Regions from separate parts of the Homo sapiens genome. Here region 2 is linked to region 1. The links are contacts of gene promoters, found by promoter capture Hi-C in blood cells and fetal thymus (Javierre and others, 2016). All regions are on one chromosome and are shown on one strand. The core of a region is centred on a gene start or on the middle of the fragment in contact, and the rest is flanking DNA. Distances in the headings are between cores, read along the strand shown.

Region 1 (6,402 bases), core at 2,246-4,745:
CTGAGGACTCTAGGATCTGTACGTTGATAAGCTCAGTTGATTCTAAGAGGGAGGCGGCATATGACAACACTGAAGGCGTGTTACTGCCACTGACACATTCAGTCCTTACCACAAGAGGGTAACAAGAATCATTACCAGCTTATTTTTAAAATGAGGACACTGAGGCACAAAGAGGTAAAGTACCCTGTCCAGGCCATGCAACTAGTAAGAACCCAAGTCAGACTATGATCTCTGGTACTCTGGCTTTTGACTGCTGCTCAAAACCTCTGTAAATACTGGCATGCAAAGGAAAAAGTAAAATCTATGCAGAGAAAAGGTTGTAAGAATGAAATTAAGTGTTTTGTTCACACTAAGTATTATTTCTGATGTCTATTGGAAAATTATTAAGTCAATTCATCAAATACTAATTAAGTTCCTACTGCCAGGCTCCGGGAGATACAATATGAACAACGACACAAGGTCACTGGAAGACACAAAGAATAAGCAAGGAACTGGGGGCCGGTGAGCATCGCATGACAAGGGAGCCCCTTGATGGGGTGAGAGGCAGCACTGAAGCCAGACTACCTGGGTTGTGGCCTTGGACATGTCATTAAATAACCTGTGCCTGCATGTCTCCTTTAAAATTGATAATAGCATCTGCCACCCTTGGCCAATGGAATGCACAGAGGGTAGGACCAATCAGGGAAGGAAATGGAGGCTTTAGGTTCAAGTCACAGGCTCTGGAGTCAGACAAAGATAGCTTTGAATTCCAGCTCTCCTACTCACAGGCTGTGTGATCTTGGGCAAGTTACCTAACCTCTGTAAACCCCGGTTTCCTCACAGGCAAGTGATGAGGGTGAAATGAGCTAATTCTCATGCAGCCGCACACAACAGGTGCTGGATAAATAAATGTTAGGCATTGTTATTGCAGTGAAGACAGTTCTGGCTGGAGGTAGGGAAATCTCAGAGGAGTGGGAGGTAAAGCCCAGAGGACTTGAGGGTTAAGTGTAAGTAAGCAAGACTGAGAAAGGGCGGAGAAAGGCCAAGGTCAGTGGGAAGTACTCACGTTGGTGAAAGGAGGCTTGTGATGCTGGTACTCAATCCAAGGAGGGACAGCCAAGGTACGGTTTAGCAGCTTTGCAAATGCCAGAGAGCCCAAGAAGTGATCGGCCTGGTTCCCAAAGCGCCCTGGAAATGGTACATTGCGGGTGAGGTGAGGCCTGGGGCATGGAGGGCATAGAGCATGCAGGGCTCAGAAAGGTTGTGGAGCCAGGGGTAGAAAGTCAGGGATACCAAGGAGAACTAGGGGAGCTGGCAGCATAAGAACAAGTCTGGACTCTTGGGTCTGATATCCAAGGCTCTTCAGGTCCTGCAACAACTGCTTCCGCCACTCCAGGTTTCTTGCTGTTTCCCCAACATGCTCTACAATTCCCATCCCCACCCAATGCCTCTGATCTTGCTGTCCCTCAGCCAGAAGAGCTTCTACCTCTATCTCCATTCACCTGCACATGGACGGGCAACTCGAATGCCTCATTCACTGGGCTCCTTTCACCAATCCCCTGCCATACTCACTCTCCCTCCTTTACCTCCCACCTTGGCTCTGAGCTACTTCAGTTCTTCAATTTTCCTCAAGTATCTTTGCTCACTTCCTGGCCTTCGTACTGGCTGATTCCTCAGCCTGTGAATGCCTCAGAAGCAAGGACCCTGTGTGATTCCTTTTCTTAATCCCAGCATGGCACCTGTTCATTCATTTCACAAATATGATTGAGAGGCCACAATGTGCCAGACTCTGTGCTAGGTGCTGGGATACAGGAATGAACAAGAAGGACAAGGCCTCTGCCCCTAAGGCACTCACAGTTCACTGCAGAGACACTAAACATGTAAACAAATACATGAAAAATGTTGATAATTGCCAGAAAGAGATGAAAAAAGTTTGGTGATAGGGTAATGAGGAGATTACTTGGGTAGAGGTCAGTGAAATCCTTTCTGGTGACATTTAGGCTGAGATCTAAAGGATGGGAAACAGCTGGTCAGGCAGAAATGGAGGAGAGGATTCCAGGCATAGGGACCGCCACCTGCAGCAGTGCAGACTGGAAGACCTGAGCATGTGTGAGGAACGCAAAGGAGTTAAGTGTGGCTGCAGCTGGAGGATCAGCAGAGAAGGGAGTTGTGGAGATGGCCAGTGGAGGCCACATCATTCAGGGCCCTGAAAGTCATGGTCAGGAGTCTGGAAGCCACTGGGGGCCTTAAGATCATCCACTTCCACAATGATGATCCACCATACCCATTTCAACTGTGCACCTGGCATGGTCTTTAGATTCTCCCCTACCCTGCTCTCTTTATTTTCCCTTAGTATTCATCATCCTCTATGAAACTATGTATTTATTGTTTTATGTTTACCCCTTTTTGGGTTTGCTTGTTTCGAGACAGGGTCTCACTCTGTCACCCAGGCTGGCAGTGCGGTGGCACGATCAGAGCTCACTGCAGCCTCGAATTCCTCGGCTCAAGAGATCCTCCCACCTCAGCCTCCCAAGTAGCCGCCCAGATAACTCCCAAGGGACTACAAGCACACGATACCACGCTCTGCTTTTTTTTTTTTTTTTTTTTTTTGAGATTGGATTTTCACTATGTTGCCTAGGCTGATCTCGAGCTCCTGGCTTCAAGTGATCCTGCCTCGGTCTCTCAAAGTGGTGGGATTACAGAAGTGAGCCACCGCGCCTGGCCTACTTATTCTCAATTGTTTGTCTTCCCCAACTAAAATGAAGGCTCTACAAGGACACGGAGTTTATCTTATTCACTGCGGTATTCCCAGTACAGAGAACAGGGCCCGGCACAGAATAGGTGCCCCATAAATATTTGCTGAATCAATGAAAAATCACCAGGAGCCAGCGTGGGTCAGTGACATCAAGTCCTGCCCCACTAACTCCATTTACTGGACCCTGGACTGGCTTAGACCTCAAGCAAGTCACGTAACCTCTCCCAGCCTCAGTTTTCTCATCTGTCAAATGGAAAGTTGGACACGTTGGCCCCTCTGTGCCCTTGCAACTAAGGCAGAGAGGAGAAGAGCATGCCCCGTCCCGCTCTGAGGTTCTCTCCTGGACCTGTGAAGGTGTCTCTGGGCGCATCTGAGGAGTGGCTTTTCCTCTCCCGGCCTCAGTTTCTCCATCTGAGCAGAGGGCTTGGGAGGCCTTACCCATGCAGGGGCAGTAGAGCAGGTAACCGGCCGGGTCCCAGGAGCCCGCAGGCATCCCCGGGAGCGGCAGAAGCAGCAGCAGGAAAGACACGCTCAGCGGCCGTGCCCACGCGGCGGCGCCCATGTCGGCCCGGGAACCCGAGCCAGCCGCGGCGCACAGTCGGGGAGGGAAGGAGGGACGCGAGCGCCCGCCCCGCTCCCAGCGGTCCCTGCGCGCCGCCCGCGCACCGCCCCGGCCGCTCTAGCCCGCGGGCGGGCGGGACCATAGAGATCCCGCGGCACCGCCCCCTCCACGACCCGAGCGCCCGCTCGCGCGGCTCCCACAATGCACCGCACAATGGCCCGACCGCCGCCACTACCGGGGCCTGAGGGGGCCTGGCGGAGCCCGAGCGCGGCCCGGCCCGCAGCGTGGGGCCCCGAGCGCGGTGAGTGCCGGCGAGGGCCCCAGGGGACGGCGGGGAGAGGGGCGGGAGGCCGTCTCGCTGCGTCCGCGCGCCCTGTACCCGGAGCGGCGGCGCGCCTCATCTCGGGCCCCTCAGCGCGGTCGCCCACACCCCCGACCCGGGGCCCGGTCTGCGCCAACCCGGCCCCAGATAGGCCCTGGGGTGACGAAAACTCTCCCTGGACCCCATACCTGTGTCTGGGGGACCCGAGGAAGCCACCGGTCCCCTCCCTTCCGAGACCTGGAGACGCAGTCCTGAGGGTCCCCCATTCCCGACCCCTAGGCTCCCTGGAGACCCAGATAAGGCGCTGCTGACCTTACCAGGGACCCGGGTCTGGGGGACGCAGATAAGCTGCACCTGCTCCCTCCCTCCGACACGCCTACCCAGACCCACATAACCCCCTTTCCTGCTCCAGATAGCCCGCTCTGTACCCTGTTTCATTTTCCAGACTTACATAACTCCCTTTGAGGCTTCCCTCAAATATCTGGGTCTGGAGAAGTCGAATAAGCCCCACCTGTAGTTCCCTCCTCAGTGGCCATACTCCCAGGCTTTCGACATCTTCCATCCCGTTACCCATTTTGAGACCCTCTTGAAATTCAGAGGATACACTTCTGACTATCCCCATCCCCCCAGCCTTCCAGCCCTTATAATCCCCCATTTCATTCTTGTGGGGATCCCTTAGAGACCCAGGAAAGTTGCTCATGATTCCTTCCCATCCTCGCTCTTCCTTCCCATCCCAGAGACTCCCTCCAGACTTCTCCCTGGATTTCCTTTGCTTCTCCAGCCCTCATCCACTCCCATCTCTCCCAGGCTCGGGGAATTGAACCTTTCCCACACCACAGTGGGGTGATCTAAAAGTTGGCCTGGGACCAGGCTGTGGCCCACCTTGGTGGGGAGAAAGGGGCCTGTTAGGTGGAGGATATGGGGACACCTGTGTGGGGGAATCGGTGCTTTCACCTGCAAGCTTAGCCTGTCTCCTGGCTTGTGTGTTTTTCCACCTGTCAGCCATGGGACTGTGTGTAGAGTCTGGTCTTGGGTTTCTAACCTTTCTCTCCTAAGGTGAGGCCACCAGATTGGGAGCGGGGGTGTCGAATCACGTTTTCTCCCCATGAAAATGGGGTTGTGATGAGTTGCAGCCATTTGTTCAAGGCCTCCCCAGGAGTGGGAGGCAGCAGGAATCTGAGGAAATAGTGAATCAAAGAGACTCCAAAGAGGGCCCATCTACACTGACAGAAGAATTAGCAGCCTGAGAGTAAATCCAACCCCTGTTAATCCTGTTTGATGTTTCTTGGAATGGTGCAAGTCATTGAGACTCTCCAGCCTCCCTGTAATTTAATTCTCCCACCACTCTGGAGTGGGCGGGGGGGAAGGGGGCGACAGCATTCCCATTTCCCCTCTTCTCACTGTTTTCCAGCCAACCAGTGTGTTTTAGGATTTGTTTCTGGTTCTGAGATCAGGATCTGTTTTTTGTTTTGTTTTGTTTTGTTTTTTCTTTCCTCTAAGTCTATTTATAATTTCCCAGTTGCTATTTTGGGTTCTGCTTAAGGGAAGATTCTATCCCAAGGAACGTTCTGGGTCTATTTCCTCCGGCAGGTGTTGAATTGAGTTCTTCAGATCCCCAAGTAACTCTTGGGCAGGAGGATAAAAGCTATTTTAGGGTAGTCACTGAAGTGGAGCTGTTAATCCTCTGTGGGTCTCTTTAGTTAAGAACACTCAAAGATTAACCCTTTCCTTGTGCAGGGGTGTTATCTCTCAACTGTTTTTTAGGGGGGAGTGAGGAGAATTTGAGTGTGGCAGCAGAAGGTGGAAACATGCAACTCAATACAAAGACAAAGATAATAGCTCTCTTTTGTTGGGTACTTCTAGCAGGCCAAGCTCTGTGCTGAGCCCTTTGCATACCTCACTAAAATAATCCTTACAGCAAGCCTGTGAGGTAAGTATTTTTAGCTTTACAGATGAGGAAACAGGCTAATAATGGAGAAAGAACGCAGTTTCTATAGAGATGATGTAACACCATAAAAACTATAGTTTCATCAGAGAGCAGCAGGCATCATGGCCCATAACAGGGGACGGACAGACTGGGGAGAAATATGTCTCAGTTTCAGCTTTCAAAGAGGACCATACAGAGTTTTTAGCAAGCATTCCTGTTTGGGATATGGAGCCCTAATAATACAAGAGAGTATAGGAAAGTGGCTCTCTGCTTAAGAGAGAACTCTGGCCCAGGAGATGGTGCCTGGAGGGAGGTAAAGTAAGGGGCTCTTTAAAGGGGATGTGCCGAGGGTTAGTTGTGAGGGAAAAGGGGAAGACTGCATTCTGGGGGAGATGTTGGGAAAGGAAGGAAACTCACTCTGAGGCCTGAGAAGTAACATTAAAGAGGAAAAAAAGAAGTACTATTCAGGCCTCATGCGGAAAAAGAGGCAGACACAGCCGAGACCTCAGAGAAGGCACTGCATGTATTCAGAGCACACATTTTGTATCAGCCACTTTCAAGAGTATTATTTCATTTAATCCTCTATACGAATCTTACAGGTAAGGAAAATAAATCCGTATTTTAGAAATTGAGGAAACTGAGGTTCAGAGAAATAAAGTAACCTGCCTATGGTTTCCCAGCCAGTAAGTGGCAGCTCTTCTGATAGCAAGTCCAAGGTTCTTTCCCCTTTCAGATCAGGCACTAGAAAGAATCTTAGGCTGAAAATATACTGAGTTGTGCCAGTAACTGGGAAGGATTGTGTTTGTTTTATGGAAACAGGTTCTGTCAGCTTCTCTATAGTCTATAGTTGTTAAGAT
Region 2 (6,402 bases), core at 2,613-5,112, 310 kb before region 1:
CGGGGACAGGGGACAGGATGGAGGCTCCTTGAGGGCTGCTGGGAGAATGCCTGGCTTCCTGGCCTTATGTTAAAAAGAAAGAAAGGAAGTAGAGTGGCCTCCTTTGCTCAGCGGTCTCTCCCCAGCAGAGTGGGGGGGACCTGGACAGCCCCGTGCCCTCCCCCAGTGCCAGGAGCATAAACAAAGGAGGTGGCAGAGGATCAGGAAGTCTGAGGACGGGAAATTCCAGGACCTCCTGACTCCACACTCCTCTTCCACCAGTCCCTGAGGAATTGAGGACACAGCATGCAAAGTGGGTGTGACTTTAGACCAGCCCAGCTCTTGGGGAAAGGGACCTTTGGAGGCATGTCTCTGTTTTCTTTGATGTGACAAAATATTGTTGCATGGTTGCAAACTGGGAGTAGCCAATGGGCAGCAATGCTGACTCTTCCTCAGTAGGCAGGTTGTCCACTTGGGTCTCCACCCCTTCACAACCAGGCCCAGACTCCTCTGCGTGGTTTCCAAGGCCCTCCATGCCTGGCCCCTCCACATCCCTCCTTGCCAGCCTGGCCTCTCCCGGCTCTCACACTTGCTTGCTGTGGGACTGTGGGAAGGTTGCATAGCTTCTCTGTGTGCTGTTGCCTCATCTGTAAAGTCAGGGTATTACTATGAGCACCCACCTCACAAGGTTCCTGGGAGCCTCTAACCAGAGTGTGTGTGTGGAGCCCTAAGCAGGTGCTAAGGAGCTGTCAGCTGAGCAATAGTTCGTGAGTCCCATTCCGATTCTCTCTACGAAGCTTCCTTGAGCGACTCCGGGGCCCTCTCAGCTCTTCCTCCAGTGACCCTAATGGCCTCACGTCTGTCGCACCCTGCTCATCCTTCACCCTTGTTTCCTGAGCCTGGGGACTGCACCGCACACAGTTTCCTCACGTTCCCCACCCGGATAGCATGCACATCAGCACTCCTCGAAGACTTGCCAATTCAATGATTTACTTCCCCAGGAAGGAGATTTTTTTTTTTTTGCCACCTTTTGAGCTGGTCTCAGGCCTGGGATCTCTGTTTCCAAATTTGAACCCCCTGAGGCTGGCTGGTCTCACGGCCTCTCTGTGCCAGGCCCCCATCGTGCACACATCCTTCGACGCCCACCCCTGCCTGGAAGATCTTTCATACCTGTCTCTGGACTGAGAGTTCTTCGTGCTGTAGGTGAAAGCTTGTGAGCATCACCACCTGGTGTTCCCACGAGGAAATGAGGGTCACTCCCATGGTTGAGGTTTGCATTGGTTGATGAGTGCCATTGGCGCCCAGCTGCACAGGCCAGCAAACAACCTGGCTTGGCCCAAGCACCCACATCATTGATTATTCTCGAGACTGCATAAAACTAGGTCTAGTGCCTGGGCTGGTTTCCATTTTTCTTGGCAAAGAGATGTTGAAAGATCTCTCTGGGCTCTTGTTGTGCTTCTCTTGCCAGCAACCTGCTGGATGATTTAGGCTCCGTGACCCTTGCTAGCTCCTAGCTCACCCTTCTCCATGGCAACAGAGTCCAGCGGTGCCGCACTATCAGGTCATTTGTAGAGGCTCGAGTGTGGCACCACATGTTGACCATGGGCAGGGAGGGGGGCGGCGTGTCTCAGAGTCCAAGGAACCCACTTCTTCCTTGTTCACGTTTCCACCTGACCTTGTCCCCCATCCTGGCGTTTTTCTCACTGGTGAGCATCTGACTCTGCGGCTTCCACTGGCCCCTGCTCCGTCTCTTTCCCACTAAGCCCATCCTCTCAGTGTGCACCCACTTATTGAATCCAGAACACCTGGGGCTCCTCACTGCTGAAAAGCTTGCCTGCTTTTCTCCTCACCCTGGTGTGGTTGAGCTCTGACCTCCCACCCATGGCTCCATGGCTCATTTCCTCACCTAGAATGTCCCCTCCCTGCGGAGGTCCTCCCTCCCCCACAGAACTCTCATTCTGGAACTGCAAAATCAAGCATTTCACCTTACAGCAATGTAAGGTGTTCTCCGATGGGTTTAGGGGTCTGCTCGGGATGTTCCAGCTTCCCCAAGACCAGGACATCCTGCCTTCCTCTTCTGAGCTCTCTTGGCTTACCTGCAGGCACGGGAAGTGGTTTCTCATCTCTGGAGACACTGGGGTGGGAACAGGCCAAGGAAGACCTCTTCTCACGCCTCCCAAGGGTGCTGTCCTGGCCACTGTTTTATTTTTCCTAAGCCACACTGTCACTAGCTTTATTAAAGATACTTTCTCATGAACAGTCATGACACTGCAGTCAGGACAGGGGCGACCATCAGTAGAAGAACACAGCTCCCCGCCTCCGTGCCTCCCAAACCTAGACAATCCCTGCAACACCCAACGAAGGGCCGACCGGGGCCGCGAGAGTGCTGGGCGCCCTTCACACTCACCATGATGTCACACTCACCATGGTGCTTAACAGCTTCTCACCAGACAGCCTCCTCTTAGAGGAAACAGAAATGGCAGAATTCTCAGTCCAAACATCCACCTCTGAAAACAGGACCCACGGCTCTTCTGAGCGATACCATCTCAGTGTCATCACTAGACTGCCTGCCTGACATGTGGCATCCGACCCGGTCAATGTATGGGGCTAGGGTTTAAAACCCCACTGAGGTTAAGAAAGTCAAATCTAGGTTGACGGTGGGGTGGAAACCCATTTGAGTTTGGTATCGGTGCAGAGGATCCCTGCCACCCAACCAAGCAGAAGTCTCTCTTAAAAAAAGGAGGAGGAGGGGGTGGTTCCTTTCAGGCCAGTTTCTTAGCCATTCCATTAGTGACATTTACTTTTTTTTTTTCCTTGGGACGGAGTCTTGCTCTGTCACCAGGCTGGAGTGCAATGACATGACCTTGGCTCACTGCAACCTCCACCTCCCGGGTTCCAGTGATTCTCCTGCCTCAGCCTCTGAAGTAGCTGGGATTACAGGCATGCGCCACCATGCCCAGCTAATTCTTGAATTTTTAGGAGAGTGGGGGTTTGTCATGTTGGTCAGGCTGGTCTCCCAACTCCTGACCTCGGGTGATCCGCCTGCCTCAGCCTCCCTAAGTGCTGGGATTACAGGTGTGAGCCACCACACCCAGCCGACGTCTACTTCTTCCTCAAAGAACAAAGAATGAAACATTCTATATGTGACAGGGTAGCTTTAAAGAGCAAAACTAAGTTCTGCATTCCTGTAAAACTTTATTCAAAATGTTATTTGATCTATAAAGTCACCAGAAGTACACAGCGTCAAAGAGGACCCCCATCCTCTAGGCCCCAGCTATTCCGGGTCCCCACCTTTTCTGCAGGGCTGTTCCTATCCTTGCCAAGCAGGAACTTCCCTTGTCCTCTTTGGGTAACTTCACCGCTTGTTGGCAGACTTTTTTTCCTTTTTAAATTATGGTAAAACATTTACAGCACAAAAACTTGCCTTTTTAATAATTTTGTTTGTTTGTTTCTGTTGTTGTTGTTGAGACACAGTCTCTGTCACCCAGGCTGGATCGCAGTGCTGCCTCAACGTCCTGGGCTCAGGTGATCCTCCCACCTCAGCCTCCCGAGTAGCTGGGACTTCAGGCACGTGCCACCACACCCAGCTAACATTTTTACCTTTTAGTAGAGACGAGGGACTCACTATGTTTCCCAGGCTGGCCTTGAACTCCTGGGGTCAAGCAGTCCTCCTGCCTCTGCCTCCCAAAGTGCTGGGATTACATGCGTGAGCCACCGTGCCCGGCTTAATCGTTCCATTTTAAAGATATTATATTCACACTGTTGAGCAATCATCACCACTATCTATTTCCAAAACTTTTTCATCACCCTAAACAGAAACTCTGTACCCATTAAGCAATAACGTCCCATTCCCTCAGCCACCAGTCCCCAGTAACCTCGAGTTACTTTCTGTCTCTTTGAATTTGCCTATTCTAAGTATTTCGTGTAAGTAGAATCATACAGTGGTTGTCGTTTTATGTCTGGCTTCTTGCCCTTGGTATCGCGTTTTCAAGGTTGCAGGGACCCTTTTGGGCTATGGCTCTTGAGGGGCAGGTATTATAAGTCACCCCCGGATATCCTCTGGTCCTCCTGGACCTCGGCCCTGTCACCCTGCAGCCTGTCTCTTGGGCCTCCTTGTGATGGTAGAGGGCACTTGGTCTGGAAGTTGCTCCCACTTTTCCTCACGCTATGGAAATCCCAGCCCATCAGTGGGACTATGTACCAGGGGCACCTTTTGATTAAAAGGCTGGGGCAAAATGAATCTGGCCTGAAGTCCTTGGAAGAAGGAGGAGGAGGCCAGGTAACAAGTAATTGAAACAATTCCTACAGCAGCTTGGTCAGAGATTTTAATGGTTATCAAATTATGTCCCTACCTTTTAATTTCTTGTAATCTGTTCCAAAAAGGCAAGAAATAAGATCAGAAATACGGAGCAATATTTATGCACAAAGATGTCCCCTGCAGTGTTGTTTATAATAGCCCCAATGGGAACAACCTAAATAGCCAATCGTTAGAGAATGACTTAAGCAAATTATGGTAAAATATTACATGGCCATAAAAATTCTACTTACAAAGCAAAATAAGATTCTTGATGTTGGGGAAAATACCTATGACAAAATGTTAAGGAAAAAAAAACTTTTTAAAAGCAGACTGGAATTCTCTGTATGCATTATGAGATCATGTGTAAAAAAGAAAAATCACAGGGAAAAAATAAACAGAAGCATATGCCAAGCTGCGTGGTGCAATTATGGTTTTTAAATTTTTTCTTTACATCTTTCTGTACTTTGCAAATTCTCTGCAAAAAGAACATGCATCACTTTGATCTTCAGGACAACAAAGGAATAAATGGGAGGAGAATGTTCCTCTGCATATGATGAAGGAGGAACCAGAATTTGGGGGCTACTGAAGGCCTGGCTCAGACCTGGGAGGCATAAGGCACCTGAGGATGTTTTTGGGGGATGCTATGGGGTGGCGGGATTGGGTGAGGTGAGAGTGGCATGTGTTCACCTGGAAGATAACTGACTTAGACAGTGGTTGGAAACACAGATGCCTTCAAGGGTCTGGCAAGTATCATAATTGATACTTGCAAATGAGCAAAGCTGTGCAATATGATAAGGAGTGGTGGGGACTGTGGCAAAATGGGAGCCACACACCCTGTCTAAAAGAAGTGGCTGCTGAAGTGGCAGTGGTTGCTTGCCTTCGGGAGTGGGGGCCCCATGTGGCCAGACCTTATGTTCTTCAAAGAAGCCAAAAATTCCTATAAACGTGTGTGTGTGTTGTGGGGGTGGGTTTGCTGGGTTTTTTTGTTTGTTTTTTAGAGATAGATTCTCACTCTGTTGCTGAGGCTGGAGTGCAGTGGTGCCATCACAGCTCACTGCAGACTGCAGCCTTGACCACCTGGCCTCAAGCGATCCTCCCACTTCAGCCTCCTATGTAGCTAGGACTACAGGCACACACCACCACGTCTGGCTAATTTATTTTATTATTTGTAAAGACGAGATCTCCCTGTGTTGCCCAGGCTGGTCTCGAACTCCTGGGGCCTGTGTCCCCTCCTGGGGCTCAAGGGATCCTCCTGCCTTGGCCTCCCAAAGTGCTGGAATTACAGGCATGAGCCAGCACGCCCGGCCTCATTGTTTTTTAACGTGTGAAATCTCTAAATAGAACACTGGCATTTAATAAAAAAAAAATATTTTTGACACCATGCAGTCCACATCTCTGGGCCAGATGTGGGTGAGCCACAGAGTCTGCGACCTCTGACCTGTCCCTTCTCCTCCAAGGTGGCTTCCTCTTCCACGGGCTCTGTTAAATGCTCCATGTGGGCAACAGGCCCGCAGCACAGACTGAAAGGGCTTTCCTTTTGTTCTTTCTGCCAGAAAACGAGCCTCCATCTCCACTGGTCTCTGGGATTATTGATTACAACATGCCCCTCACCTCCACCTACCTGAAGCAGATGAAGCTTCGAGTGATGAATTCCCAGGAGCAGGTAAGGCGGCCGTCTCCCCTCACCCCACCTGGAGGCGTCCTGACTTGCCTGGCGGTGGTTGATTCTTTCCAAGACTTGGGGCCACAGCTTGTGTAAACACACGGGAAATCAAAGAGGCCCTTATCTGGTTATCTGGGTTGTCCAGGCGGAGAGGCGGGAGGCAAGAATGTGTTTCTCGTGAGAGGGTCTCCTGTGCAGACAGCCCTGCAGGTCTTCAGGGAGAAAACTTTCCCCTTGGGTGGGCTCGTGGGAGGAGGGGGAGGAGGGGACGTGGAAGGGAGGGAGCCGCAGCCCTGGCCCCTGGAGTTGTTCTTTCTCTGCTCTGCCCTTTATCGCTGGCCTCTTGCCACCTTCCCCCAGGGAGGCAAGAGAGAGTAGCCGCCTGCCTGTGGCCTCTGTCACTCTTGGGGCCCAGAGGACTAGGGGATAGTCCTTGGAGGGTGGACCTGGGGCCTCCTGGCCG

What was found. The method cuts DNA at HindIII sites, captures the fragments that hold promoters and counts their contacts. A CHiCAGO score of 5 or more calls a contact.
Region 2: a fragment that was not itself captured here is called in contact with the fragment with the promoter of PLAGL2 in region 1 in 1 of 17 cell types (endothelial precursors); the score reaches 5.3 in endothelial precursors.

What each region holds. Positions count from the first base shown.
Region 1 is chr20:32,204,836-32,211,237 of GRCh38, reverse strand. It overlaps PLAGL2 (PLAG1 like zinc finger 2), which reads left to right and starts at 3,495. Exons shown (of 3, transcript NM_002657.3): 1 at 3,495-3,597. It overlaps POFUT1 (protein O-fucosyltransferase 1), which reads right to left and starts at 3,358. Exons shown (of 7, transcript NM_015352.2): 1 at 3,173-3,358; 2 at 1,046-1,167. The coding sequence starts at 3,296. RefSeq lists enhancers at 3,019-3,148, 2,611-3,524, 5,440-5,489 and a silencer at 3,289-3,708. The HindIII fragment of the contact is 5,170 bases long and covers 1-4,581 here.
Region 2 is chr20:32,510,884-32,517,285 of GRCh38, reverse strand. It overlaps NOL4L (nucleolar protein 4 like), which reads left to right. Exons shown (of 11, transcript NM_001256798.2): 4 at 5,830-5,939. It overlaps LOC101929698 (a long non-coding RNA gene), which reads right to left. Exons shown (of 3, transcript NR_110619.1): 2 at 5,898-6,071. Among named protein-coding and RNA genes, the nearest start is that of NOL4L-AS1, 47 kb to the left of the region's middle. RefSeq lists a silencer at 5,913-6,308. The HindIII fragment of the contact is 4,104 bases long and covers 1,811-5,914 here.